Regions from separate parts of the Homo sapiens genome. Here all the other regions are linked to region 3. The links are contacts of gene promoters, found by promoter capture Hi-C in human tissues and cell types (Jung and others, 2019). All regions are on one chromosome and are shown on one strand. The core of a region is centred on a gene start or on the middle of the fragment in contact, and the rest is flanking DNA. Distances in the headings are between cores, read along the strand shown. Region 1 has its middle 79 kb from the start of GNAI1. Region 2 has its middle 150 kb from the start of GNAI1. Region 3 holds the start of MAGI2 (membrane associated guanylate kinase, WW and PDZ domain containing 2). Region 4 overlaps GNAI1 (G protein subunit alpha i1).

The links. Contacts are between HindIII fragments. The study calls those that stand out against the background at their distance.
Region 1: a fragment that was not itself captured here is called in contact with the fragment with the promoter of MAGI2 in region 3 in 1 of the 25 tissues and cell types used here (IMR-90 fibroblasts).
Region 2: a fragment that was not itself captured here is called in contact with the fragment with the promoter of MAGI2 in region 3 in 3 of the 25 tissues and cell types used here (IMR-90 fibroblasts, lymphoblastoid cells and small bowel).
Region 4: a contact is called between a fragment that was not itself captured here and the fragment with the promoter of MAGI2 in region 3, in 1 of the 25 tissues and cell types used here (hippocampus).

The regions. Positions count from the first base shown.
Region 1 is chr7:80,053,914-80,057,022 of GRCh38, reverse strand. No RefSeq gene overlaps it. Among named protein-coding and RNA genes, the nearest start is that of GNAI1, 79 kb to the left of the region's middle. The HindIII fragment of the contact is 7,093 bases long and covers 1-3,109 here.
Region 2 is chr7:79,979,537-79,982,731 of GRCh38, reverse strand. No RefSeq gene overlaps it. Among named protein-coding and RNA genes, the nearest start is that of GNAI1, 150 kb to the left of the region's middle. The HindIII fragment of the contact is 6,983 bases long and covers 1-3,195 here.
Region 3 is chr7:79,452,025-79,454,952 of GRCh38, reverse strand. It overlaps MAGI2 (membrane associated guanylate kinase, WW and PDZ domain containing 2), which reads left to right and starts at 1,286. Exons shown (of 22, transcript NM_012301.4): 1 at 1,286-1,933. The coding sequence starts at 1,633. It overlaps MAGI2-AS3 (MAGI2 antisense RNA 3), which reads right to left and starts at 1,996. Exons shown (of 4, transcript NR_038346.1): 1 at 1,762-1,996; 2 at 1,298-1,366. RefSeq lists an enhancer at 2,546-2,840. The HindIII fragment of the contact is 8,431 bases long and covers 1-2,928 here.
Region 4 is chr7:80,143,478-80,146,790 of GRCh38, reverse strand. The region is part of intron 1 of GNAI1 (G protein subunit alpha i1); the gene reads right to left. Among named protein-coding and RNA genes, the nearest start is that of GNAI1, 10 kb to the right of the region's middle. The HindIII fragment of the contact is 5,700 bases long and covers 1-3,313 here.

The DNA.
Region 1 (3,109 bases), core at 30-2,529, 600 kb before region 3:
TCCTGATTCAATTCTTTTGTATACATACTGAAAAGTGGAATTGCTGAATAATATGGTAGCTCTATTTTTTATTTTTTTTGAGGACCTCAGACTGTTTTTCATAGCAGCTGCACCTCCAGAGATTCTAATTAAGTTAATTTGGGATAGGCCCCAGATATCAGCATTTTATAATTTCTCCAGGTGATTCTAATATGTCTTAGGGCTGCAAATCCCTGCCCTGAAGTTGATAGCTCTCAGCCTGACTATATAATAGATCAGTGATTCTCACAGCTAGTACCAGAAACACCTAGAGGGTTCATTGAAACATAAATTGCTAAACTGGCATTTTTAACAGTTTCCCAAGTGATAATGATGTTGTTGCTGATACTGCTGGTCCAGGAGCTGCCCTTTGAGAACTGCCCTTTTAACAATGCTAGAATCAACTTTGTCTGACTTTTCCTTTATGATCTATTTCTTTAAGCTCCCATAGCTGACTAAAACCACTTTTGAAAATTGTGGTAAAATAAACATAACAAAAATTTACCAACTCTTGTGATTCTTTGCACAAAAAGTCCACATATGCCTGTTATATGTATGTGGATTTATTCTTTTTTGAAAATATGAAGAGATTATATTCCATTATGAATTTTTGGTACTATTTTTCTAATATTGAAAGTTACTTACACATCTTGACAACACAAGGCAGTAGGGTGCAACTTTTCAAGAATGTTTTGTGAATAGGAAAAGTAAACCTGGGATTGGGGACTTGCGGCAAATGAGCCACAAGTGGATAAATCTTCTTGCAAATTGTTGTAGCTATATTTTTAAGGACATTTAATAAGAATTTCAATTGATATAAAACTTGTCATGGTTAGCAGAGTATGGCCAATTACATTATTGCTATTTTAAGCCATTTTTCCTAGTGATAAAATTATACCATTTTGTAGATGGCCTTTAAAAGAGCCTCTCTCTGTTGCCCAGGCTGGAGTGCAGTGGCATGATCTCAGTGCACTGCAACCTCCCTCTCCTGGGTTCAAGCGATTCTCCTACCTCAGCCTCCCGAGTAGCTGGGATTACAGGCACGTACCACCATGCCTAGCTAATTTTTGTATTTTTAGTAGAGATGGGTTTTGTCATGTTGGCCAGGCTGGTCTTGAACTCCTGACCTCAGGTGATCCACCCATCTCGGCCTCCCAAAGTGCTGGGATTACAGGTGTGAGCCACCATGCCTGGCCAAAAGTTTTATGCATACTTATTAAATAAAACTTAGTTTAATCCTGGACTTTGTTAACAAGCTGTTTGACCTTGAGTTGGTCATTCAACTATTTAGGTTTCATATTATTTTTACAATGATCTATGGGCTTCCTTCTATGTATATTTATTTTTAATTTTTAAAATCAGATGTTGTAAAATACCAAACATTTATTTAAAATGTACAATAATAATAACATGAACAACTACATTTTACTGTCCAGTTTATGAAAATTCTTTTAACATATACTTTAAAATCCCTATGTGTCTTCGTGTAACCTATTCTCTTCTCTTTCTGCTCAGAGGAAACGTTATCAGAATTTAGTGTTTATCATTCTTTTGCCTGCTTTCATAGTTTTCATAGTTTTACCACGTATGTATGTATAATCAAAAATACATTTTATTTTAGTATGCTTTGAATATTCTATAGATACGTTTGTAATATGTGTCTTCCCTTGCCATTACCCTGGGGAAGCAGGTGTATATATAGTTTATTGGACCCACCTCGTTACTTTGCCAGATTTCCTACCTTTCACAGTATTCTGTTTCACTCCTATAGGTCAGTGAAAACTAAAGCTCAATTCACCTTGCTTTGTTTGGTTGATATTGTCAAGGTGAAAATGGCTTGTTGCTTACCTGTTTCTAATTTTCTAATTTAACTTTGTTCTCACTCTCTGATTATCCCCAATTTTCTTGTTAGTTCCTCAGTGCATTCAAGAACATGGTTTTAATTGTTTATCCATATTTTTTGCAGTACTTTGTGGCAAAGATAACAGGAATTGAGACAAAGGTGAATAAGTCAGAATTCCTGATTTCCAAAACCTCAAATCCAGAGTATGAGAAGACAGTCATGTAAATACACAATCAAAATATTTATTTCTTCAAACCTATGTATTGACCTAGCATCTTCAAACACCCCTTGACCTGAAACAAGCAGAAGGGAAAAAATGAGGTTAGAAAAGAAATAGAGAATAGAAAAACAAAAGAAAAAAATAAAATCAGAAGTTGGTTCTTTAAAATAAATTAACAAAATTGACAAACCTTTGTCTATACTGACCAAGAAAAAAAGAGGTGAAGACTCATACAACTAGAATTGGGAATGAAAAATGGGTCACAGTTTTGAAAAACACTTCAGCAGTTTCTCAAAAGGTTAAACCTAGAGTTACCATATGATCCAGGAATTTCCCTTTTGGGTATACGCCCAAGAGAGTGGAAGCATATGTCCATGTAAAATTGTGTATACAAATGTCCATAAGTGCATGATTCATAATATCAAAAGGTGGAAATAATCCAAAGGCCCAACAGACGAATGGATAAATAAAATGTAGTATAGTCATACAATGCAATATTATTTGGCAATAAGAAAGAATGAAATACTTATTCATGCTGCAGCATAGATGAGCCTTGAAAATATGATGCTAAGTGAATGAAGCCAGCCACAGAAGACCACATATTGTTTGATTCGATTTATTAGAAATGTCTTAGCATTGGCAAATGCAGGGAGAGAGAAAGTACATCGGTGGTTGTCTATGGCTGGTTTGGGAGACTGTGGGAAATGGTAGGATGATTGCAGAAGGGTATGAGGTTTTGTGTTGGGTGGGAAAATTTTCTAACATTGATTGTGGTAGCGGTTGAACAATTCTGTGACTTTATTAAACACAATTAAATTGTATTCTTTAAATGGGAGAATTGTATGGTATGTGAAATATATTTCCATAAAATTACTAAAAGTGAAATCATCAGAGCTCAATTTCAAACCAAGTGTCATATTTATAGATACTTAGCTGCTTGTCTCGGCAAATGAAACAACTTGATTTATAGCTACCAAAGATTAGATAACAAATTTTCAATAGAGGTAATGTGACGTTATGTGAATGAC
Region 2 (3,195 bases), core at 355-2,854, 530 kb before region 3:
TTATCAGTCAATGTCTGATTCATTTCCTGGGTAGTAACAGACAACTCATATTCTATTACATTGGAGTTAAGGTTTAGACTTTTTTCCTGAATGAATCATATGGTATTATTTACATTGAGTTTCATTATCTTTTCAAATTGTTAAATCTATTCGTGATTTTTTTTTTACAAGAGAAATAAAGATCTTGTGATTAAGGGTCCTCTATAGCACTCCCTCATAATACATGTGTAATCATTTAGCCTTATCCTATTTTAATAAATTCGTATGTAGAGTGTCCCTGCATCTGCAAAACATGAATTAAAGGGGAGAAATGTGGAGGCTCAAGTCTTTATGCCTAAGGGCTGGATGACAGGTCTTTGAAATGACCCCTTTAATCAGTAAAGGAAGATGCCAGATGTTTTATTATTCCAGCAGCCACTGCTAATGACAAGAGAAGGTTTTGGTGTTTGTCAGCTGAAGCTTTCTTACTGCTGGTCTGATGAGTTAGAGCAAACCAGCATCTGTTCAGAGAATGTGCAGAGAATCATAGACCTAGAGAATGTGTTTAAGTTTGAAGTCTTGAGTGATTAGGTGTTGAGTTCACTCCCTTTACATTTTCGTAGCATGAGTTTCTTGGAAAGAATGAGGAAAGTATGGAGATTTTCAGAAAGAATCAATTAAGGTAATCAGAAGGGATTTTGTCAATGCTTCTGCAAATTACTTTTTTCACAATGCATCTCTACTCATTCAGAAAGACTTAAGTGGATGGACATTACTGTTACTTGTCTCCTAAATATGTCATTGCTGGATGTAAAAAAATATGCTCACATTTTTTATTTTACTAAAAAAATTTCAGGGAAATATTAAGATTTAAAAGCTACATAAGCTCAAAATAATGACTGCAGTCTCTCTGATTCTTCACGCCTATTTCATTCAGTTTGATGTACTCTTCACAAGATGTGAGAGTGATTTTGCTACCTTGGGGAAATATTTCTGACAGCAAATATGATATTACATTAGTTGCCTTTGGGCCCCAGATATCCCTTCCTCAGTATGTACATTAAGGACCAGGCAGTAACAGAAAGACACGTTATAGAAGGAGTACAAGGAAATATTTGCAAGATTGAAAACATACCAAAAATAAATGGAAACACTTGCTAAATTACAACTTCAAAACAAGAAAACTGAAGCAGAAGGCATAAAGCACTCTGGCATGGTTCTTTATATACGGATGTTGCTCCCTTGTACAGGGAACATATACCTCAGAAATCTTTGAGGCACTTAATAAAAATACAGTATCCTAGGATTCCTATAAAATTTATAGAATCAGAAAGTAGAACCAAGAATTACATGTTTTACCAAATGCCTCATGTGTGGTTTTAATACATACAAAGGCATAAACCACTGATACAGGGTAATAAGAAAGGGCATTTTGAGGGTAAAAATTAAAAAGACATAGTTGATTTTCAAAATTTATATTACAGTCTGTGTGAACTTTTTGCTGTCTCTCCGCATATGAGGGTTTAACAAGTAATAATGTTTTATCATGGTTTCTATGAAATAAATGCTGGATGCATCTAATGTTTTGGACCAAGTATGGGGTAGGTGGGAAGGCTATACTTGATTCACATTGGATCCAGTGAGAGTACAGTGGGCTTTCTTCCAAGCCCTAAATTCTTAGATTTAAGAATAATACTTGATCATGAAAAATTATCAGAAATATCTTTAACAAAGCAGACTTTGATCTGCCACACTTTATTTTATATATGTGTCTGTTGATAAATATTTTCATTAGGCTCATCTTAATTCAACAATTCCTATTCTACAAAACAGAACATTTCCAACATTCTAAATAGTAATTTTCCACAAACTTTACAAAATGAAAAGGGAAAATAACTAGTAGTTTATATTCCAAATACATTCCAACATTTTTTAGGATTTACAATGTATTACCTTCAAACCTGTACTTCCTATATTATTTGTATTAGTTTTATTATTAATGTTTGTTAATGGCATCATTGGTCATTCAGGAGTTTGTATGAGAAAACTCAGAGTTATCTTAAATTTCATTTCCTCTCTCTTCATTCCCTCATAGTCAAGTAGTTGCCAGATTCACCTCATTCCACATATTTCATATCTCTTTGACCTTTCACCTCCTCTAAGTTCCACTGCCAGTACTTTGGTAGATAAAGGCCTCGATGCCCTTGGCTAGATAACTGGACTCTTTTAATTGGCATCTCAGTATTTATTCTGGACACCTTCTAGCACATTCTTTAAATTGATGTCCAAGATGTCTTTTTAAAACAAAGAACTGGAGATGTTGCTTTTCTGATCAAAAAAACATTTTCTGGTTCTTATTTTCATTCAAGATAATGCCCAAACTTCTTAGTATGGCATAAGTCTTTTCACAACTACCCTTGGCATATAATTCCAGTATTTTACAACTCTATCCCACAAAAAGTACACACATCCCTCCTGGATTCTTAATGTATCTGTTTCATTCTCTATCAAAAGGCCTTCTTATTTCCCCAGTCTACACTTATACTTCCCTGTTTTTCTTTCTCATAGCATCTTCTTTATTTAGTTTTTAGTTTTTTTCACTATACCCTTCAGTCTCATCAAGTGGGCTCCACCTTCTATGAATACTGTTTTCCAAAATTGGTCTACAATATTTGTAATCTTTTTATAGCCAATGCCTGAATTTTTTGTAAATTATACAACATGGACATTTCCTTGGTATTTCTAAATTTTCCAAAATGTTTTCTGTGATATAATACTCTTTGGATGCTCTTAAGAATATTTTCATACCCCAATACATTTGGAAATCCTGCATACCATGTTCACTTTTGGGAGATTTACATAATATATATAGAAGCTCATTGAAGGTTCGGTAAAGTCATACTTTTAGAAAATTATTGAACCCTGAGATTAACCTGAAGTTTCTCTAATTACATGACTAATGTTCCATCGTAAAAAATATATTAGTAAGATAAGTACTGGAGCTAAAAGTGATATTCTAAGGAAAGAGACAGCAAACTGTGACATATGAATCAAATGGCACATCCCCCTCCCTGATTTTGTAAATAAAGCTGTGTTGGAGCGCAGTCATACCCATTTGTTTATATATCATCTAAGGCTGTTTCCTGCTACAAAGCAGGGTTAAGTAGTTGCAACAGAGATCATATGGTTTGCAATGCTTAAAATATTTACTTTTTT
Region 3 (2,928 bases), core at 37-2,536:
CTTCAGTGGAAATCAGCAGCCTCCCTGCATCCTTTTGCCCCTGTCCTCCCCTCTCTTGGATGCAAACCTGGCGAAAAGAAGGGAACACTGCTTGGGGTCAGCGAGCTGAGTTCCAGCTCCGAATGTACCATTTTCACCCTCGGGAGTCTTCTCCCCTTTCTCTGTGAGCAAAGGAGTGTTGGGCCAGACCGTCTTAAGGATTCTTCCCCAGGTACAAGCCGGACTCTGGCGGCTTTCCTGGGCAAGGGAGTGTCTCCGCCTTGTCTCTGCCGCAGGTCCCTGGTTAAATTGTCAATTTCTCTGCGGAGGCTGCTCACTGCATCCGCTCCCTCCACCCCTAGCCCTGTAGACCCCTTCTCTTTCCCCTACTTGGGAAAAGTGAAGCCCCTTATCCTTGGATAGCCTTTCACCAGACAACCGCAGCCGTCCGCTAAATTCCCCTACTGGCGGGACGCGCGGGCGGGGGCCTGCCCCGGGGAATGCGAGGCTGCTTCCCTTCTGCGTAATCAGGGTACGCAGCCTCCAGTTCTCTAACTTTCTCCTTCTCTAAGAGGGAATTTCGAGAACTTTAAGACAAATAAGTGACTATATAGATGAAGACATGAAACCTCTCTACACAGTGAACTCCCCCACGCTACAAGGCTCCCAGGGATCCCAGGCCTTCTCCCGCAATGCCCCGCCGGGTCCCCCGCCCCAACTCCTTCTCACGGCAGGATCCCGCGCCAGGACGCTCGCAGAGCCCGAGATGTGGCACCAGGCGCGCCACAAGTCCAGGTCCCGCTATTTCTGCTCCATCGGAGCCCAGGTCGGAGGGAGTCAGCGCGTCCTCCTCGCACAGGAGCCTGGCGCGCGGCTCGGTCGCACAGAGGCTGAAGAAAGGTCCGCACTGGGCTCGAGGCCCTTCCTGCCGGCCTCCCCACGCCGGGCCTAGGCTCCCCTCCTTCCCGGCTCCCGCCTCCTCCCGTAGGCTGCCAGGCGGACCCAGCCTGCCTCTCTCTCTGCCTTCACTACCGGGTCAAGCTGCGGAGGGAGGGAGGGAGGCAGCGGCGAAGCCCTCCGTGGCTCCCCACCCGGCGCGCGCGCCCCTCCTCCCCTGCCTCCTCCCGTCTGCCAGTACAGTAGAACTAGTACACACACACACACACACACACACGCACACGCACCCTGCCACTGCAGCTGCCATGGATATCAGCTAACAACACACACCCAGGCGCGCGCGCGCGTTCCCACTCGCACCACGCAGGAGTGGCCCCCGGCATCCCTACCCTCCTTCCCCACCCCCACCACACCCGCTCACCAGCTCGGCTACTGCTCGCTCCGGCTGCCGCCGCCGCCGCCGCCGACGCCACCACCACTGCTTCCTCTGCTGCGGGGCCACAGCCTTGAGTGTCATTCAAGGGACAGCACAACCTCATCCAAGCTCTCCTACCTCTGCCCAGCCGTCCCTCTCATCCTCCCCATTCCTCGTCCACACTCCATCCAAAGAAGAGGGAAAGCACCGAATAGAGGGGGGCGAAGGCAAAGTCTGCTGTTCTTCCCCCTGGGCCCCCTTGCTCCTCCATCCTCATTCTCTCACCACCAGCCCCCCTAACCCCAAGGAGCCCAGGAACTGAGGCGACTCGCCCCACTGCCATGTCCAAAAGCTTGAAAAAGAAAAGCCACTGGACTAGCAAAGTCCATGAGAGTGTCATTGGCAGGAACCCGGAGGGCCAGCTGGGCTTTGAACTGAAGGGGGGCGCCGAGAATGGACAGTTCCCCTACCTGGGGGAGGTGAAGCCCGGCAAGGTGGCCTATGAGAGCGGCAGCAAATTGGTGTCGGAGGAGCTGCTGCTGGAGGTGAACGAGACCCCCGTGGCGGGGCTCACCATCAGGGACGTGCTGGCCGTGATCAAACACTGCAAGGACCCCCTCCGGCTCAAGTGTGTCAAGCAAGGTGAGAGCAGCGGCTTGCTCAGTGTTTTGCCGGGCGGTGGGACCGCTCGGGGCGCAGGGCAATGAAAGGGTGGCCGCGCATGTTGAAGGGGGTGTGTTGCGCGATGATGGGGTGGGGGCCAGAGAGCACCCGCAGTGCAAGTGAGTTTCGCCGGGGATTCGACTTGGGGGCTAAAGGGAGGGGAGGGGCAGGTTGTGGTGTGGCGTGCAACTTTGTTTGCTCAGTTAGACCCTCCCCTTTGGAAGGTGCTCGGCCTGGTCTGACCTCCTCAGAGCTGCTGGGGCAAATTGAATGTGCGTCAGTGGCATCACCCGAAGCGGATGAAGAGCTTTTGGGGAAGGGAGGAAGGAAGAAAAGAAAGAAAGAATGGGAGGAAGGGAGGGAAAGAAGGAAGGAGCAACTTCAGGGTGCAGCGGCATCACCAGCGGGTCTGGGAAGAGAAGGTGGTGGGGTGAGCGGAGAACTGCGTCCAGCGTTTCTGGGGCTGGGCTGGGGGCGCCTGGGTCCCCAGCTGTCCCTTAGGGATCCGTGAGCCACCGCTGGCGAAGAAAAGAAGGGACAAATTGCTTTGGGCGCTTTGACGGGTCTTCTGTAACTTTTCCCCTTCTTCACTCCGTGTCCCCCTCCCCCGCTCACGGTCGTGTCATGTGGGCATCGCGCGTCACGTGCGTACTGACTAACCCCTGCGCTCACCCCTAGCCAGCCCGGGGGAGGAGGCTCCGGAAGAAGGCGCGGTGCTAGGAGCGCAGTCTAGTGCTGGGCGGGGGTCGGAGGAGATGAATGGTTGTCGGAGGAGATGAATGGTTGTCCGCATGGACTTTACTCAGGGGTTGCCCTCATTGAGTGGAAGTCCTCTGTGGTTGGGCTCTCCTCTGGCTCCGATTTGGGGGGCGTGTTTTGGGGGAGGAGCTGGATGAAACCCTGGCCGGTTCCAGCCCAGGCTCCCTCAGCTCCAACCTGACTTAAATGAACCTCAATTGGAGGCTGTGATGTGG
Region 4 (3,313 bases), core at 555-3,054, 690 kb before region 3:
GTGGCAAAGGCCAGATAAGATGTGAGAAATGCTTATGAAATGGATAAATGGAAAAGAACCAGAGAAGATTACCTCCTCTAGGACTCTGAGATGGACTGGACTGTGGCTCAGCAATACAAGCACCCCGGGAGCCTATGAGAAATGCAGAATCTCAGGCCCCACCCCAGACCTACTCAATGAGAATCTGCATTTTGAAAGATTCAAAATTACTTCTATGCATAGTAAAGTTTAACTTTAAAAAGAACGAGCTCTAAAAAAATAAGGTCAGCACTTGGATTGCAGCAAGGACATACAGTAGGAATAATTGTGGGAAAAAAACACAAAAACCTAACTTCAGAGCCAGACACAATAGAGAATGTAATATGAGAAATTTTTGAAAATTATTAAAGTGCTTTTTTTCTCTTTTGCATTTACATGAATAATGGGAGAAGAGGCAGACACTGGTATCATCCAGACAAAAATGGAAGAGTACAAGTGCCTTACTTTCCCAGGCATCCCATGGCAGAGCCTGCAAGCTTGGGAGCTACAGGGCATTCAGTTAGGAGCAACTGGAGCAGTCACACAGGGAAAAGAGAGGCAGAGTCAGACCCATATCTTAATCTCCACTCTGGGCCAAAGCTGAATTGTATGTCAGAGAAGATGAAGAAACTGCTAAAGGCAGTGGGGCCTGTTTGGGTTAAGAAAGTCTCCTAGGCAGCAACATGTATCCAAGCAGTATGATGAAGTGTGGCTAAGCAGAGGGAATGCCTGAGCTGACCTTTCCCCATCACCATGGGACCTCTGTGGAATGTATGCAACATATAATTTTCCTGATGCTTGAGATAACCAGAGAAGGCAAAGCACTCGAAACAGCTGAGAACCTGGCTACCTCATACTGGCTCTACAGGAAAGGGCTGCCTGGGAAAAACCAAGTAAGAAGGACACAGCATCCACGAGATTGAAAGGAAAACTGCAGCCAACCCAGGGTGTACAGGATTCACACAGACAACGTACTGCTTAATATATGCTCACAAATGAAAAATTATAAGAGGACACAATTTACCTCGAGACAGAGTCAAGACACCATAAATAGCTGAAGCTCAAGAACTTCAAAAATCGTTTTTCAGACTATGAAATAGGTACAATATAATGAAAATGGCTTTGAAAAAGCCAGAAAATAAAGAAGTAGAATAACAGACACTTTTTCAAGCTAAAGATTAGAAATGGTTTTTAGACATAGAAATTTCACCACTAAAATGTAAAGCTCAATCTATTAATAGGTAGATTAGTTATTACCAACTGGATAAAAATGAACCTAGAAAATGTGTAAGTAGCACAAAAAGATAAAAACCACAAAGAGGTTACAATTAAGTTCGAATGAGAAGCCCAACCTTCATATAAAAGGAACTCCAGAAGGAGAAGAGTACACGGGAATAAACACCACATTACCTCTTTAAAAAATATATAGATTGATATGGTTACATGACTGCCTATTTCTCAATACTTCTATATCAATCAGAAAGTCAATAATTTAAAGCAGAAAGTAATTTAAAGAGTGACTGCAAAGTGAAAAAGGAAAAATATGAACACTGCCTATTTTTCTGAATATTCTGAAAAGTTTAAATAAAAAAATAGATTAAAAATTACTTAAGGGGTGTATTACTTGGATTTTATCACTTTTAAAGCTAGGCATGACTTGAGACCAGGACACAGGAGTCTTTAAAGCAGTATGAAGATGCTAGTGGATCAGGTGGATGGAAAAAGGTGCTGGAGGCAAGAGAGGACGAATTGATGGAGGCAAGTGCTCAGTGTTGGTCTTGAATTAGAGGAGCACCATCTTATAGTCCCAGCAACTTTACTGACCACCATTACTTTTTACAGTAACAAAATATACCTTGCATACATTTCTTGATCTGATTGCTGATTGAATGTGCTCAGTTTGTGAAAACTTAAGTGAGCTAGTATACATGGATCAATTTCAAGCTATACCGAAATAAATGTAATTCTTGGAATTAGATTAACTTCGGAACCATATAAGAAGGCAGTTTAACTCCTACTACATTATATTGATTATAACTGTAAGTTTACTTACAAGTTCCATCCCTCTTAAATACCATGAAGAACAAAATTAGTAAGCCTTCAGCAACGGCTGTCAAATAAGATGTATGTGCCCAAACAAGAAAAATGAATAATATAGATCAGTTACTAGAAAAAATTCTGGATTGTACTTTAGTGAGGCAAGGGTAACAGGAGGAGTTTCATACAACTGAAGATGTAAGTCTTAAGGAACTCATTTTACAATTTATTAAAAGGCACAAATACTATCACAGATTCAACAATTCACTGTTTCTCTATTAAGGTTACCACCACTTTTAAAGACATTCTTCTCCTAAAAGTAAATCCGTTATAATCCTGGAGTTCTATCAGGAATCTCTTTGAGTCAACAGTGCAGGAAGTTTTAGAAAGGATTTTATATTTTGTGGAAAGTTGTCAAACTCCTCTGAGAAATGGCACCATCTTTTGAATAAACTTAACGTTTCATAATTTACACTAACAGCTTTATTTTCCAAAAAAAAAAAAAAGTTTGCAAAAAGCCACTGCACTAATTCTAAAAATGGATAATAAAATGAAGAGAAAATTACTGCTATAACATTTGTAAAATCTTCTGATTATGTAAAGTGCATTCTCTATAGAATTCTTAACACAGCACAGATATTTACCTGGTCTAGCCCCAGTAAGGAGGCTGTTAAAGAGAAATCCAAGTCCCTCAAGGAAGTTACGGTGGGATTAGAAACTAATGTTTAAAACTGAATTTATACTTCTTGAAGTCTTCACTATATATATACACACACACACATATATGCACACATATAGATACACACACGCGCGCACACACACACACACACATCCTTGCTAAGAAAAGCCAATAAAAAGAATTTAATGTCTATGACCACAAATGGATGAAACTGCAAGGGAGGGCTGATTCCACAGAGTCTCTGAAGTATTTATAATAATAGCCTATAATTATTAAGAATGTATGTACCATGTAGTATTCTAAGTACTTCAGATGCATTAGCTTACTTTGTCACTAGCCCTATGAAGTAGATATATTTATTATCCAGCATTTATAGAAGAAAAAACTGAAGCTTATAAAATTTGGTAACTTGCCCAAGGTCTCATGGGAAAACTTTTACCACCAGAGTTCTAAGTCAACTCACCTTTCCTCTCTGGAAAGCCTTTCTACAGAGCTAAATAAACCTTGGAGGGGAAAAAAATTCCTTAGACATGGAAAATGTTAGAAAACTAAATTCATAGATAGCAAAGTCTCTTCTAC